Regions from separate parts of the Homo sapiens genome. Here region 2 is linked to region 1. The links are contacts of gene promoters, found by promoter capture Hi-C in blood cells and fetal thymus (Javierre and others, 2016). All regions are on one chromosome and are shown on one strand. Each heading gives the region's core, a stretch centred on a gene start or on the middle of the fragment in contact. The rest is flanking DNA. Distances are from core to core; before and after follow the strand shown. Region 1 holds the start of TCF23 (transcription factor 23). Region 2 holds the start of DNAJC5G (DnaJ heat shock protein family (Hsp40) member C5 gamma).

Evidence for each region. Contacts are between HindIII fragments. The CHiCAGO score rates a contact against its expected background, and 5 or more counts as called.
Region 2: a contact is called between a fragment that was not itself captured here and the fragment with the promoter of TCF23 in region 1, in 2 of 17 cell types (naive B cells and total B cells). The highest score is 6.5, in naive B cells.

The regions. Positions count from the first base shown.
Region 1 is chr2:27,144,439-27,152,292 of GRCh38, reverse strand. TCF23 (transcription factor 23) reads right to left here and starts at 3,289. Exons shown (of 3, transcript NM_175769.3): 1 at 2,938-3,289; 2 at 1,928-2,170. The coding sequence starts at 3,159. The HindIII fragment of the contact is 12,568 bases long and covers 1,169-7,854 here.
Region 2 is chr2:27,269,073-27,276,926 of GRCh38, reverse strand. DNAJC5G (DnaJ heat shock protein family (Hsp40) member C5 gamma) reads right to left here and starts at 1,494. Exons shown (of 7, transcript NM_173650.3): 1 at 1,374-1,494; 2 at 540-821; 3 at 86-201. The coding sequence starts at 198. It also overlaps a transcript of SLC30A3 not described here. The HindIII fragment of the contact is 568 bases long and covers 2,476-3,043 here.

The DNA.
Region 1 (7,854 bases), core at 2,040-4,539:
TCCCAGAATACACCAGGTTGATTGCCCTGAGGTCGCCCTCCTGTTCACAACCTCTCCACCTGGGAGCTGAGGGAGCTGCTTCCTGGCCAACTGCCCCACCCTGTGGATGTGCTGGAGTGCTGGACCTAACCGGGCCCTCATTGGTTCATTCTTCAGCATAGCTGTTGATCACCTACTACAAGCAAGGGCCTTGCCTTGGTCACTATTTTACAGCGAAGGAAACTACTATATCATCCCAGGACCCTGCACCACCACTGACATTTCAGAGTTCCCCACTTAGTCTCAAATTTATACATTTTAGCTACATTTGCATTGAAGAAAAAAACCAAGTTTTAAGACATTTCAGAACTATGACATTTAGGGGAAAGAGGTGGTGAAAAGTATCATAAAAATAAAGTTGAGAGGTGAGAGGATCACTTGAGCTTAGAGTTTGAGACAAGCCTGTGGAACAAAGTGAGACCCCGTCTCTACAAAAAAAAAAAGAAAAAAAAAAGCCAGGTGTGGTGGCATAAGGCTGTAGTCCCAGCTACTGGGGAAGCTGAGGTGGGAGGATTCCTTGAGCCCAGGAGTTTGAGGGTACAGTAAGCTATGATTGCGCTACTGCACTCCAGCATGGGCGACAGTGAGACCCTGTCTCAACAATAAGTAAATAAATAAATAGTTGGGTGTGGTGGCTCACACCTGTAATCCCAGCACTTTGGGAGGCCGTAGTGGGTGGATCATCTGAGGTCGGGAGTTTGAGACCAACCTGGCCAAAGTGGTGAAACCCTATCTCTACTAAAAATAGAAAAATTAGCCGGGCATGGTGGTGCACGCCTATAATCCCACCTACTCGGGAGGCTGAGGGAGGAGAATCACTTGAACCGGGAGGTGGAGGTTGCAGTGAGCCAAGATTGCGCCACTGCACTCCAGCCTGGGCGACAGAGTGAAACTCTGTCTCAAAAAAATAATAGTACATATATAAATAAATAATAAAATAAAAAAGTTGATACCACTGCAATGTTATCCTCAGAGGGCAAAGATGACCCTTCCTTTTTAACACAGTGCACTCTTCAACCAGCTCCTTATGGCGCTGTCCCTGGAGACTGTTTAGTGGCTATGAGCTTAGGGTCTGAAGTCAGACACCCCTGAGTTCAAACCGCTTTCAGCCTCATAACCTCCCTAAGCTTCAGTTTCCTCATCTGTAAAGTAATCCTCATTTGGTTTTTGCATGGATTAAAAGACAAAAATACACTAACGTACTTAACCCAGCTCCTGGCCTATCTTTAGCACTCAACTGTTAGCTGTTATTGCAAAGATGATTAATGTTCATTAGACTTTCCATTTTGTACTCTGGAAGAGAAGTAAGGCTCATGTTAGCTTCTATTTTACGTGTAATAAAACTGAGGTTGAGAAAAGCTAGATTGCAGTCTGGCAAGTGGTGCGCGCCTTCCCTGTACTGCTGCCTGCTAACTCCCCCAGCTTGGTTGCTTCTAGAATGACGGTCCCTCAGACCGTTGTTCTCCTGGAGGACAGACCTCTCTTGCAACAGAAGCCTAGAAAGCACCAAGGCAGGCACAATGGGCTGAAGCTGCATGGGGATCTAGGACTCTCCTTGGTATAATTTCCTTTCCCAGGCCCCAGACTTGGAACCTGCTACATTTTTCCCTGTGACTCTAAGAACCCCAGAGTCTTTCCCTCCTCTTCAAGGAGGTGCATTCCCATGAAGCCATTTCCAGCCACACTCCCATGAGAAACCCAGGGTCAGCGCAGCCCCAAGGGTCAGCCTTGGCTCCTCTCCCTCTGAGACAGCAGGAGAAATTGGCTCCGACGTCAGTTCTGCACAGGGCAGGGGGCCCAAGTCCAATGTCCCCCCTCATTCCAATCCCTTTCTCCAAGGCCCTGGGCATTAAGATCCGCCTCTCAAGTCCCAGGGCTTGTGACTTACCTTGAGAGGGTGCAAGTAGCGGAGTCCACGCAGGAAGGGCGGCCAGGCAGGGCCAGGCAACTCGTGGCCGAGTGTGCGGGTGAGGTGGGCTATGTAGCTGGCGGCGAGCACCAGCACGTCCAACTTGGAGAGCTTGGTGTCGGGCGGCACGGCAGGCAGAGCAGCCTGCAAGGCCAAGAAGGCCTGGCGCAGCGTCCTGACCCGGCTCCGCTCCCGCGCGGCATTCTCAGGACTGGCCTCGCTCTGCACAGAGGGCCCCAGTGAGTGTGTGTGACCTGGACTCCCAACTGCCCTGACTTCTGAGAGCGTTTGAGCACAAGGTCTCCCACCAGAGTAGAAGGGTGTCTAGCAGTAGGCACCAGAGGGCCTCTGCCCACCTACGTCATCTGCAGCCCTGCCGCGTTTCACAGCTGAGGAAGTTGGGGGAAGGCCTGGCCAGGGGTCAGATGGCTGCAGGATGGCAGAGCTTGGCTCAGAACCCAGAGTCCTGTGTTCTCTCTACTACTCCACTCATGCCTCCTCAGAGCCTTTGTCCTGTCCCATGCCCAATCTGAATCCTGCTTATCAGGGTGTGCTGGGGCCAGGGGGAGTTCAGAGCTACACCCTGTTTGGGAGGGCGGACCCTTGACCTAGCCAGGTCCTGAGACGACGAGGCTGCTGTGGGAAAGAGGAAAGACACAGAACCAGGGGTCAAAGCACACAGGCTGAAGTCCCAGTCCTACCACTGGCTGCTGCTCAGTGACCTTGGGAAATTCACATCCCTCTTCCCGGCCTCAGTTTCCTCAAGAGAAGTGAGTTAGTGCAGCTCTCTGAGCTGCACTCTGGTTAAGACCAGCTCTGATCTATCCCAACTACCCAAAGCATGATGCCTTGGAGTCTAAGGGGCCAGTGTCCCCTCTCTTGGGCAGGAATGGTAATACTGAGTGAGGCTGTACCATCAGAGGTGACATCTCCCCACCTTCCAACCCCTTCCTCCCCTGGACCCCTCTGCAGGTGCAGGATTTCCTTACCCTGCCAAGAGCCAGGCCCCCAGCCCTGGTCCCTCGAGGGCCAGGGGTAGCTCTGCTCCATCTCTGGTTGCTCCAGCTTCTTTCTTCCCACGGGTCCTGCCTTGTCCTGCTGAGGCGGCTCCTCTTCCTGTCAGCGCCTGGCAGCAACCGTGCTTTGGCCTGAGTCTGGCTATGCCCCACCCCTGGCATGGCTGGTGGCCCTCTGGCCTTCCTCTGTGACATGCCACCCCACTGGGGCTGCAGCCCACAGAGCAGAAACACAGTGCCTGAGGAGGCCTTGGACTCAAGCTAGCTGGCTGTGGCTGGTCATCCAGCCAGCAATATCTACATCCGAGGAAGCTGGCGCCAACTCAGTCCTGTTTGCTCCCTGCTCTGGGAAAACCGCCCACCAGGCACAGCCCCCGCGAAAAGCCTCCGCCTGCCTCCTAACCCAGCTGAGAGGTGGGGGTGCTGGATGCTGGGAGTGGCCAAGCCTTGGGAGGAGGCCCATGCTGAAGAAGGCAGGAGGATAGTGGGGAAGGGAGCTCCTTTCCGGCCATGCCTAACCTCAACAGTGGTCCTATGGTGGACCTGTGACTTCCGCTTTGGAGCTCACGTCCATGGAGAGGACTTGAACCTCCTTCGTCTGTGCCAGAAGGCTGCCTGCATACATCCCTGAAAGGCCTTTCCTCCCCTTGCCAATGAACGTGACCTTCCAGCCACAGAGCGCGATTTGCCATGCCCCAAATATGCCTCCGATTTCCACTCTGTGTTTAAATTTACCTTTCCACGCCCCAGAATACCTTCCTCCAGCTCTGCCAGGAGGTACTGCCCATCCTTCAGGTCTCCGCCTTTCATTCGTGAAGACTTCAAATCCCGCAGGCCCAGAGCCCATGGGTCCCTGTTTGATTGGTACAATCACAGCCTGGCTACTTTCCCAGAAGTTCGATATTCATAGATTACTGTGTGCCAGGCACTGTGCTAAGCATCTTATTTATTTCTCAGAGCAACCTTTTAAGAAAAAAAGAGACTCAGTTTAGATGTGTGGGAACTGGTATACTGGGAGGTGAAATAACTTGCCCAATGTCAAACATCCGTTAAGTGGTGGGGTGGGATGAAAATCCAAGCCGTCAGTTGGACTTTGAAGGCTACCCCTCACCTGATGCTAGCCTGCCTCCCATGGGTTACTCACGCGTCTGTCCCCATGCTAGACATGAGGTCTCTGAAGGCAAGGACCATGGTGTTCCTGAGTTGCATCACATCCTCCAAGAGCTAGTTAGGAGAAGGCGGGCTGAAGGAATCGCGAATCTGCCACAGCAGCCCCTGCTGTCTTCCAGGGACCTCTGCCTGTAGCAGAATCCAGCCTGATGTCCCTTGTCCCCCATTCTCGAACCTCAGGGGAGATCAAATAAGTAAGGAGAAAGTAAAAAGGTGGATGTACAGTGAGAAAGATATGCAGCCCACCACAGAGAAAGGGAAAAAGAGGCCGGGCGCGGTGGCTCACGCCTGTAATCCCAGCACTTTGGGAGGCAGAGGCAGGTAGATCATGAGGTCAAGAGACGGAGACCATCCTGGCCAACTTGGTGAAACCCCGTCTCTACTAAAAATACAAAAATTTAGCTGGGTGTGGTGCCACGTGCCTGTAGTCCCAGCTACGCGGGAGGCTGAGGCAGGAGAATTGCTTGAACCCGGGAGGCAGAGGTTGCAGTGAGCCGAGATTGCCTGGGCTCCAGCCTGGGCGACAGAGCGAGACTCCATCTCAAAAAAAAAAAAAAAAAAAAAAAAAAAAGGAAAGGAAAGGAAGGAAGGAAGGGCCGGGTGCAGTGGCTCACACCTGTAATCCCAGCACTTTGGGAGGCTGAGATGGGCAGATCACGAGGTCAGGAGACTGAGACCATCCTGGCTAAGATGGGTGAAACCCCATCTCTACTAAAAATACAAAAAAATTAGCCGGGCGTGGTGGTGGGTGCCTGTGGTCCCAGCTACTCAGGGGGCTGAGGCAGGACAATGGCGTGAACCTGGGAGGTGGAGCTTGTAGTGAGCCAAGATCGTGCCACTGCACTCCAGCCTGGGCGACAGAGCAAGACACGGTCTTGAAAAAAGAAGGAAGGAAGGAAGGAAGGAAGGAAGCAAAGAAAGAAAGAAAGAAAGGTAGGTAGGTTAGTAGAAACAACCTGCATGTCCATCAGTAGGGAAGTCGTTAAATAAATTTTGGCATCTCCATACTATGAAATAATGTACAGTAATAAAAATAATGACAGCCCTTTGTTAAATGACATGAAAAACTCTTCAAAACACACAGTTGTGAAAAAAGCTAGTTGTAGATCAATATATATAGTAAGACCCCAGCCACGTAAAAAAATACACCAAAAAATAAAAAATAGAAATGTAAAGTTTTATGTGCTTATGTGAACATATAGAAAGGAGATGGAAAAGATGTGCATCAGGCCGGGCGCGGTGGCTCACGCCTGTAATCCCAGCTCTTTGGGAGGCCGAGGTGGGCGGATCACCTGAGGTCAGGAGTTCGAAACTAGCCTGGCCAACATGGCGAAACCCTGTCTCAACTAAAAATACAAAAATTAGCCAGGTGTGGTGGCAGGTGCCTATAATCCCAGTTACATGGGAGGCTGAGGCAGAAGAATTGCTTGAACCCGGGGGCGGAGGTTGCAATGAGCTGAGATCACGCCACTTCACTCCAGACTGGGCAGAAGAGCGAAACTCCATCTTAAAAAACAAACAACAACAAAAAAAACCCCAAAAATTATCCAGGTATGGTGATGCATGCCTATAGTCCCAGATACTCGGGAGGTTGAGGCAGGAGTCGCTTGAACCCAGGAGGTAGAGGTTGCAGTAGGCCGAGATCGTGCCACTGCACTCCTGCCTGGGCGACAAAGTGAGACTGTCTCAAAAAAAAATAAAAAATAAAAACAGTGCAGTTACCCCCTTGCTCCCTCTTGGATCGCTCACTCTGGGGGAAGCCAGCTGCTATCTTGAGGATATCCAAGCAGCCCTGTGGAGAGGCCCATGTTGTGAGGAACTGAGGCCTCTCACTGACAGCCACCACGACTTGCCAACCGTGGGAGTGAGCCACCTCAGAAATGGATCCTCCAGTTCCAGTTGGACCTCCAGATGACTGCAGCCCTGGCTGTCGGTTTGAGTGCAACCCATGAGAGACCCTGAGCCAAGATCACCCAGCTAAATTGCTCTTGCCCGTAGAATTCCTGACTTATAGAAGCCATAGAAGATAATAAATGTTTATTGCTGCTTAAGTTTGGGGGTAATTTGGAAGCAGCTATAGATAACTAATGTAGTATGTGTTACTGAAGCCTGTGCATTGTTGTATGAATAAATTTTAAATTTACACAAATGATAATTGTATTAGCCAGGTGCAGTGGTGCATGCCTGTAATCCTAGCTTCTCAGGAGGCTGTTGGGGCAGAGGGGAAGATCACTTGAGCCCAGGAGTTCCAGGTTACAGTGAGCTATGATTGCGCCACTGCACTCCACCCTGGGCAACAGAGATAGAATCTGACTCAAGCAATCCTCAAAATTACAAGTTTCAAGCAATTAGGCAGAAAATCAATAAGGATATAGACGACTTGGGAAACACTATAAACCTACTAAACCTAACAGACATCAAATAACACTCAACAACATAATGCTACAGATTCTTCTAAATTGCACATGGAAGATTCTCCAGAATGGATCATATGTTAGAGTCTCCAGAATGGATCATAAAACAAGCCTCAACATGCGCAGTGGCTCACGCCTGTAATCCCAGCACTTTGGGAGGCCGAGGCATGCGGATCACCTGAGGTTGGGAGTTCAAGACCAGCCTGACCAACATGTAGAAACCCCATCTCTAGTAAAAATACAAAATTAGCCGGGCGTGGTGGCACATGCCTTTAATCCCAGCTACTTGGGAGGCTGAGGCAGGAGAATCGCTTGTACCTGGGAGGTGGAGGTTGCAGTGAGCCGAGATCGCTCCATTGCACTCCAGCCTGGGCAATAAGAGCGAAACTCCACCTCAAAATAAAATAAAATAAATAAAACAAGCCTCAGTAGATTTAAAAGGACTGAAGGCATACAAATAATATTCTCTAACCACAATATAATTAAATTAGAAATCAATAACAGAGCTAACTTTTGAAAATTCACAAACATAGAGAAATTAAACAACACATCCTTAAATAATCAGTAAGTTAAAGAAGATATTGCAAGGAAAATTAGAAAATACTTTGAGACGAATGTAAACAAAAACACAACATACCAAAATTATGAGATCCAGCTAAAGCAGTGAAAAAGAAGGAAAATTTATAGCTGTAAATGTTTATATTTAAAAAAAAAATGGCCAGGCGCAGTGGCTCACGCCTATAATCCCAGAGCTTTGGGAGGCTGAGGCGGGCAGATCACCTGAGGTCAGGAGTTTGAGACCAGCCTGCCCAACATGGCAAAACCCCATCTCTACTAAAAATACAAAAAAATTAGCCGGGCATGGTGGCAGGCGCCTGTAATCTCAGCTACTCGGGAGGCTGAGGCAGGAGAATCGCTTGAACCCGGGAGGCGGAGGTTGCAGTGAGTGGAAATAGCACTGTTGCACTCCAGCCTGGACAACAAGAGCAAATCTCTGTCTCAGAAAAAAAAAAAAAAAAAAAAGTTAAAAAAATTTGAAAACGAGAAAAAATTTCAAATCAGTAACTAACCTCTTTAGGAAACTAGAAACAGAAGAGCAAACTAAACTCAAAGTAAGCAAAAGGAAGGAAATAATGATGATTAGAGCAGAAATAAATGAAATAGAAAATAGAAAAACAGGCCGGGCACAGTGGCTCAAGCCTGTAATCCCAGCACTTTGGGAGGCCGAGGCGGGTGGATCACCTGAGGTCAGGAGTTCGAGACCAGCCTGGTCAACATGGTGAACCCCCGTCTCTACTAATAATAC
Region 2 (7,854 bases), core at 1,510-4,009, 130 kb before region 1:
AAAGAGTCAGATAGCAAAAGAGATACAGAAAGAAAAAGGTTTAAGGGGGAAATTCCAAGGATCAATAAAGGGCTGAGGTCTGAACCTGTAGGATTTTTTGAAGTCTTCAGGTGAGGCGCCCTTCTTAAGATCCAGCACTGCATAGAGGCTCATCTCACTTTTGGACAGCCGGTGTGCTGCTTCCTTCACAGTAGACATGATCTGAGCCAGAGGAGAAGCAGCATCTGTGAGAACTTCTACAAGTAAGGGTACCGAGAAGTGCACTTCCAGTGACAGGAAACTCACTACCTTCAGGGATTAGGCAGGTAAACGATGACAGAAGGACAAGGATAAGATAAGAGTGAGTGGGATTTGTGGCTAGCAGGAGAATTCAGGTGATCAGAAAGATTCCAATTTTAAGGAGGAAACATCTTCTCCTCACATTTCCCAGCATCCTCCAGCTACACAGACCTCTAGATATCCCACATCCTAGAGGTGTTGTAAGCAGGGAGAGGTCTAAGCCAGGAAAAGAGCCTGATTTTGTCTAGAGCTCCTATTACCTGGAGTAAACACCTCTGGGTCTGTCCAAGCTCACTGCTGGGTTTGAAAGACCAGGGCGGCCCCAGCCTGAACGGACAGGATCAGGAATCAGACAGCTCCACAACTTCTTCTTCTTTTTTTTTTTTTTGACGGAGTTTTTTGCTCTTGTTGCCCAGGCTGAAGTGTAATGGCGCGATCTCGGCTCACTGCAACCTCCACCTCCTGGGTGCAAGCGATTTTCCTGCCTCAGCCTCCCGAGTAGCTGAGATTACAGGTGCACGCCACCACGCCCGGCTAATTTTCTGTGTTTTTAGTAGAGACAGAGTTTCACCATGTTGGTCAGGCTGTTCTTGAACTCCTGACCTCAGGTGATCCACCCACCTCGGCCTCCCAAAGTCCTGAGATTACAGGCGTGAGCCATTGAGCCTCGCCGATCCACAGCTATTAAGAGAGAAACACTTCAGACCAAACCGTGTGAGGCCTAACAGAAGTCAAGTGTCCTAGAGCCTGGCGGGGGCGGGGGCGGGGGCGGGGGCGGGGGTGGGGAGTGCTTGCAGCTAGGCCTGGACTTGCTTCTTCCCTCCAGTCTCCTGCTCTCAAACCACCCCACTTCTGTCCCTCAGAGGTGGGACAGTGGGGAGAGGAGGAAGAGGACTCAGAGGCTGGAGAAGGAAGAGAAAAGGCGTTGCTGTGGGAAAGACCTGGCAAGGAAAAGGCAGCGGAACCCCAGAGAGCAGGGTAGACGCCTGCGGCCCAGGAGAACCGAGCAAGGCAAGGAGCTCAAAGGGAGAGCTCTGAGTGTGCAGGGCACCTCTGGCCCTGTGCCGACTCCTCACCTGGGTCTGGCCCTTTACCTGGGAGTCGTTCTCTTAAGCCAGGTGGGTGCCCTTCATCCTTTTGGGTGTGAAACTTCACACCGGCCGGGTCCAGCAGTTGACTGCGCTTGTGCGCAGCGTCGACGCTGAGGGTCTGGGCAGGTCGTTTTTTGGCGCCCCCGGAAGCACTGGGTGGGGAGGCCACATTGGCCCTGGGACTTATTTCGCGCGCAGGGAAGCGAGAGCGGAGGGCTTAGCAGGCCTGCGGCCCAAGGCAGCGTAGGAGCGTTGCTGCCAGGCCTTGGGGCAGGGATTCCCACCGAGCCCCTCTTCCCCAGCAGGAGGGCACCACCCATCTTGATGGCCCAACTCACTCCAGGAAACACAATGGGTTTGCTGACCGTGGCGGATGAGAGGTATGGCTGCTGCATGCCCTTCTTAAGAGGTGTGTTACCTTCCCAGTTGTCTTCAGGACTTAGGGCTCTCCGCTTGGTCCCTCCTTCTCTTCCACCCGGAAACACCTCCACAACCTGGAAGACCCAACTCATATGCCCCTGTTCCTGACACTCCATCATTCACTCTCCCAGTTGTTCCCACTTCGTCTGTCAAAGCATTTCTCCTAGTATATCGTAATGATGAGTTTGCACGTCTCATTAAAATGATGTATTGAGCCTTTTCCAAAAGTCACTACCGTGCTTCAAAAACGTCACTTAAATATGATGCCATCATGAGCATGTCCCATAATGTAACCCAACTTGGCTGTTTCAGTTGTTTCTATTTGATAATATAATAACCTTATAAGGAAAATTCAACAGAAATCCTTGAACAAATGTCTAATTTTTTTTCCTAAGGATACATTCTTAGAAGTGGAATTATTGGGTCGAAATGATTTTTTTTTTCTTTTTTCTTTTCTTTTTTTTTTACGCTCTTGATCTCTATTGCTAACTTTCTTCTGGAAAGGTAGCAGAAGGAGGATTTGTATCCCCACCTGCTGGCATGGGAGCATGCCTCTACCTGGCTTCCCTTCCTGTGAGTTTCTACAGGAGGTAGTGTTTGCATCACTTATAATTTACTACTTTGTAGTGCTGGTTTTCTTTGCAAGAGCACTCAATGGCTCCTGTAACATGTAGTAGAAAAAGCTTTGTTACTTGGAAAATGCTTATCTGTTAACCTTTTTGTAGCTTTTATCACTCTCTTCCTTTTATTACAGTTATTTGTGCACATTTTCCTCACCTTGTAGGTTTTTTTTGTTTGTTTTGTTGTGTTTTGAGGTGGAGTCTCACTCTGTCACACAGGCTGGAGTGCAGTGGCACAATGTCTGCTCACTGGAACCTCTGCCTTCCGGGTTCAAGTGATTCTCCTGCTTCAGCCTTCCAAGTAGCTGGGATTACAGGTGCCTGCCACCACGCCTGGCTAATTTTTTTTGTATTTTTAGTAGAGACGGGGTTTCACCATGTTGGCCAGGCTGGTTTCGAACTCCTGACCTCAGTGATCTACCCGCCTCAGCCTCCAAAAGTGCTGGGATTACAGGCGTGAGCCATTGCGCCAGCCCCCTTGAAGGCGTGAGCCATTGTGCCAGCCTCCTTGAAGCCATTGCGCCAACCCCCATTGCGCCAGCTCCTTCGAAGGTCACTCACCAAAAAAGAAGCTGAAGCTGATAATGTTTTTTGGTGGTTTGTCTCATGCCAAATTTCTTTAACCCCCAAGCTTTCATGACTCATGGGAGGACAGAACTAGCAGAACAAACCAGCTCATTTCTTCCCCAGCACTGGGTAGAGAGAGCAGAAGGCATTAGAGGTGCACTTGTAAATCAGTATTCCACCTCAAGAACCATCTAAGCAAACGAACTAAGGAGTCCATCTGTAGCAGACGTGATGACTGCTGAATTAATGAATTTATTTCTGTAGGCCTGTGGTCAGTGCAGGGAGAGGGGATGAAGACCTTTGCATTACCCACCTGGTCCATAGTCTCTGGGTCAGATGAGTTTAGAGGTCACTCACTTAAAAAGAAGCTGAAGCTGATAATTTTTTTATGGTGGTTTGTCTCATGCCAGATTTCTTTAACCCCCAAGCTTTCATGACTATCATGGGAGGACAGAACTAGCAGAACAAACCAGCTCATTTCTTCCCCAGCACTGGGTAGAGAGAGCAGAAGGCATTAGAGGTTCACTTATAACGAATTCCTTGCCTCAGTCTGTAAGACCCAGCGTGGTCCTGCCCCTCCCTCTCCAATCTTTTCTGGAACCACTGTCCTACTTGCTCTGGGCTCTGCTCCACCGCTTTCCTCTTTCCTGTTAGTTATTTGAAAACATCGTGTTCCCTCCCATTTCAAGAGTCTTTGACCATGTTGTTCCCTCTGCCTGGAGGGCTTGACCTCTCATCCTTCAGGGATCTCAGCTTCAGGCCTCCTCAGAGAGGCCTTCTAAACTGGGTTCTACTCCTCTCTCCTCACCTCATAACAGCCTGCAAATACACACACACACACACACACACACACACACTGTGTATATGTATCTATATCTATCCATATATATATATATATTTTTTTTTTTTTTTGAGACAAGGTCTTAGTCTGGAGTGCAGTGACACAATCACAGCTCAGCAGCCACAACTTCCTGGGCTCAAGCCATCCTCCCACCTCAGCCTCCCAAGTAGCTGGGACTAAAGGCATGCACCAGCATGCCCAGCTAATTTTCATATTTTTGGTAGAGGCAGGGTTTCATCATGTTGCCCAGGCTGGTCTTGAACTCCTGAGCTCAAGTGATCTGCCCGCCTCAGCCTCCAAAAGTGCAGGGATTACAGGCGTGAGCCACCACGCCCAGCTGGTGAACATATGTTTATTTGCATATTGATTTAAAAGCTGCTGTTGGCCAGGCGCAGTGGCTCATGCCTGTAATCTCAGCACTTTGGGAGGCCGAGGCGGGTCGATCACGAGGTCAGGAGTTCAAGACCAGTCTGGCCAACATAGTAAAACCCTGTCTCTACTAAAAATAAAAAAATTAGCTGGGTGTGGCGGAGGTTGCAGTGAGCCGAGATCGTGCCATTACACTCCAGCCTAGGCAATAGAGTGAGACTCCGTCTCAAAAAAAAAAAAAAAAATAGCTGCCTTCCCCAGGTGACAGCTCCACGAGGGCAAGGACCTTGTTTGTTTGTTGACCATTGTATCCCCAGCACCTAGAGTCATGCCTGGCTCACGTGAGTGAATGAATGATTTCTTGAATGAGCTATAGCTGAGGGCCGTCTGCTGATCCAATGTAACCTGGAGGTTGGGCTCAGAATTCCCTGGGACAGAAGCACTTAGCTAGGGAATTGGACAAGACTACAGGGCCCATCTTCCCTCATATGGTCCTAGACAAGAAGAAACCATGATACAGAAAGGTGAGAGGGGAGATAATAACGTGATCCTGAACTCCCCGTTTCTTATTTGCCTTAGTATTCCCTCCAGTTCCTAACACACTTCCTGTGTTCAGTAAATGTTGGTTGGTTGAATGAACAAGCAAAAGTGTGAGGCTTTTCCGAGACACTCCTACCTAATTATCTCTTTGGATCCTCACAACAACCCAAGAGGCGATTGCATCCCTGCTTCATAGAAGTGAGCCCTGAGAAAGAAGGCAAATTCGGTTCTGAGAAGAGTTAGTAAACACCTTTCGCATCTTGACAGAGGCTGCAGAATGTTTTCACTTCTTATCATGGCCCTCTGACATTCTAACTAATCACAGTTCATGGCTCTTGAAATAGCCGTTATCTGTAAGTCTTGCGAGGCTCTGCTCTGAATAGAATGTCACTTCAGCCAGGAAGCTGCAGAGGTGGGAGTAGCACGGCCCAGTCGGCCTGGCCTCCTTTGGCCAGTGGCTCTCCTCTTTGCCTTTACCTAGAAACCAGAGCCTCTTTGACTGAGTGTTCTATGCCTGGGCTCTTCTCACACGCAGCTCAGTCCTAGGAAGAACACACAAGCCAGGGGTCAGAAGCCCTAGATCTTAGCTCTGGCTCTGGCCCTCACAGGCTGTGTGATCTTAGACAAATCATTTCATCTCTGAGTCTATTTTTCCTCTTCTATAAAAACCTGTGCCATTTCACAGGGTTGATGTCAAGACTTAATTGGATTTGGTTTTAAAAAGAATGAAAGTAAAAAACCAAAAATAACTGCCAAAGAATGATTACAGACTAAAACCATTTCTTGGATCATTTGCCCTCCCATCATACCTTGAGTCAGTGATCTTTTTGTTTACTACCACTCAGAGCCATTTGGTCTCTCATGGAGAAAACGAAGAAGCATCCCTTGTTTACCCACAAACAACTAAAGTTTTAGTCATATAGCTGGAATACACACACATACAGACAGCAGACATTGGCATATTTATACCCAAAATACCACGCTCTGGAACATATGCAGTGGGAGAGAGAGAGATCACAATTTGTCACATTCAACCACCAGGTTCTCAAATTGTACAGTTTTTGAGCTGGAAGGGACCTCAGAGATTTAACTTGAATCCAACGCCTTCATTTTATAATTGAAGAAAGTGCAGCCCAGAAAGGCGGATTGACCTGCTTAAGGTTATCTAGTGAGATCTGACCTGAGTTTTCTGACTCCAAGTTCAGTATCTACACCGTGACTGTTCCTTCCTACTTTAAAGTCCAAATCTACAGACAGACCAAAGCTGTGGGGGATATTCACATCCTCTCATGGGTGATGTCAGGTAATGTTCCTCTTTCCCCTCCCCCAGCAGAAGGCATGTATACTACATGTGACCAAAACCACCACCACCCACCCAATTGTGTTTGCCTCTGCTTCCCAGGCCAGACATCTCAGGATGGGAGGTGGAAGACTTTCAGCTAGAAAGGAGACTGCTTCATGTCCCTGTCCTCTCTGACCTGCAACCCCAAACTTTGCAGACCCAACACTAGGCTAACAGCACCTGTCTTACCTGTAAACTGGAGATAATAGTGTCTGTCTCTTCGGGTTGTTATGAGGATTAAATTTGAATAAAGCACGAGGCACATGCTTTATTATTATTACTATTGTTTTTATACTAGCTATTTCTATCCTATCTCCTGATTTTATAAGGAGAGAGGTTGCATTTCATTTTGTCGCTGGGAAGAAAGGAAAAATCAGGGTCCTTCCCCTCCCCTAAGATTTGCAAATTGTTATTGGTGTCTTTCCATGCTTCTACATCCTTCTCCTCAGCCTCTTAGAACCCCATTTTCTTGTTCTCCTACCCAGTGCCGTCATGCTGCCCTCTGGCTATCCAAAACACCGCCCCCAGTCCTCCCAAGCAGCCAGAACTCCAAAATTACCACTCTCATTTCCTCTGTTTTAATACTTCTAATAAAAACTATTGCCTTCATAGAATGATCTCATCCCTCAGGGTAGATAGAAAGCAATCTTATTAAAACACTGTAATTTAGATTATAGTGAAAAAATAGTTAATACCTCACCCTCTTAATTGTTATTAATTGTCATTAATGCAAAAGGAATAACAGATAAAATTTCAGGCAGAATGACTAAATGGAGTGAAAAACATCAGGTTATGTTTTGGGAAGAGACTTTGGCCCTTAAATCACTTCTTTCTGTTTAACCCACCAACTATCTTCTCATTTATTGAGCTCTGCACATTTCTCTGGTTCTCTTCCTACATCTCTGATACATTTGCTGTTTCCCTTACTGGGTCCTCTTCCTTCTCTTATGTCCTGACTGGATTTTCTTTTCTTCTTCTTCTTCTTTTTTATTTTTTGTTTTTGAGACAGTCTTGCTCTGTCACCCAGGCTGGAGTAGAGTGGCATGGTCTCGGCTCACTGCAACCTCTGCCTCCCGGGTTCAAGCAATTCTTCTGCCTCAACCTCCTGAGTAGCTGGGATTACAGGTGCGCACCACCATGCCTGGCTAATTCTGACTGTGGATTTTCTCTGCAGTTTGGTCCTTAAGCTTCTGCTTGTGCTCTTTCTTCTCTTCTTTAGAGAGTCAGTCTACACCCATGGCTTCTGCTGTCACAACTGTGCTTTGGTGTCATCCACATGCCAGTGTTCCATTGCCTCAAAACCACACTCCATTGGATGCCACATGCAGGGTTTGTAAAAAAAGAAAAGAAAGGCCAGGTGTGGTGGCTCACACCTGTAAGCCCAGCACTTTGGAAGGCTGAGGCAGGCGGATCACGAGGTCAGGAGATCGAGACCATCCTGGCTAACACAGTGAAACCCCGTCTCTACTAAAAATACAAAAAAAATTAGCTGCGTGTGGTGGCACATACCTGTAGTCCCAGCTACTCGGGAGGCTAAGGCAGGAGCATCACTTGAACCCGGGAGGCTGAGGTTGCAGTGAGCCGAGATCGTGCCACTGCACTCCAGCCTCGCAACAGAGCAAGACTCTGTCTCCAAAAAAAAAAAAAAAGAAAGAAAAAGAAAAAGAAAAAAAAAACCACACTCTAAAATCTGAATTCATCATTTGCCCCCAGACTATTTTTTTTGTTTGTTTCTCCATTTCTGTTAATGTTACGACTATTTGTAAGACTGTAGACTCATTCTTT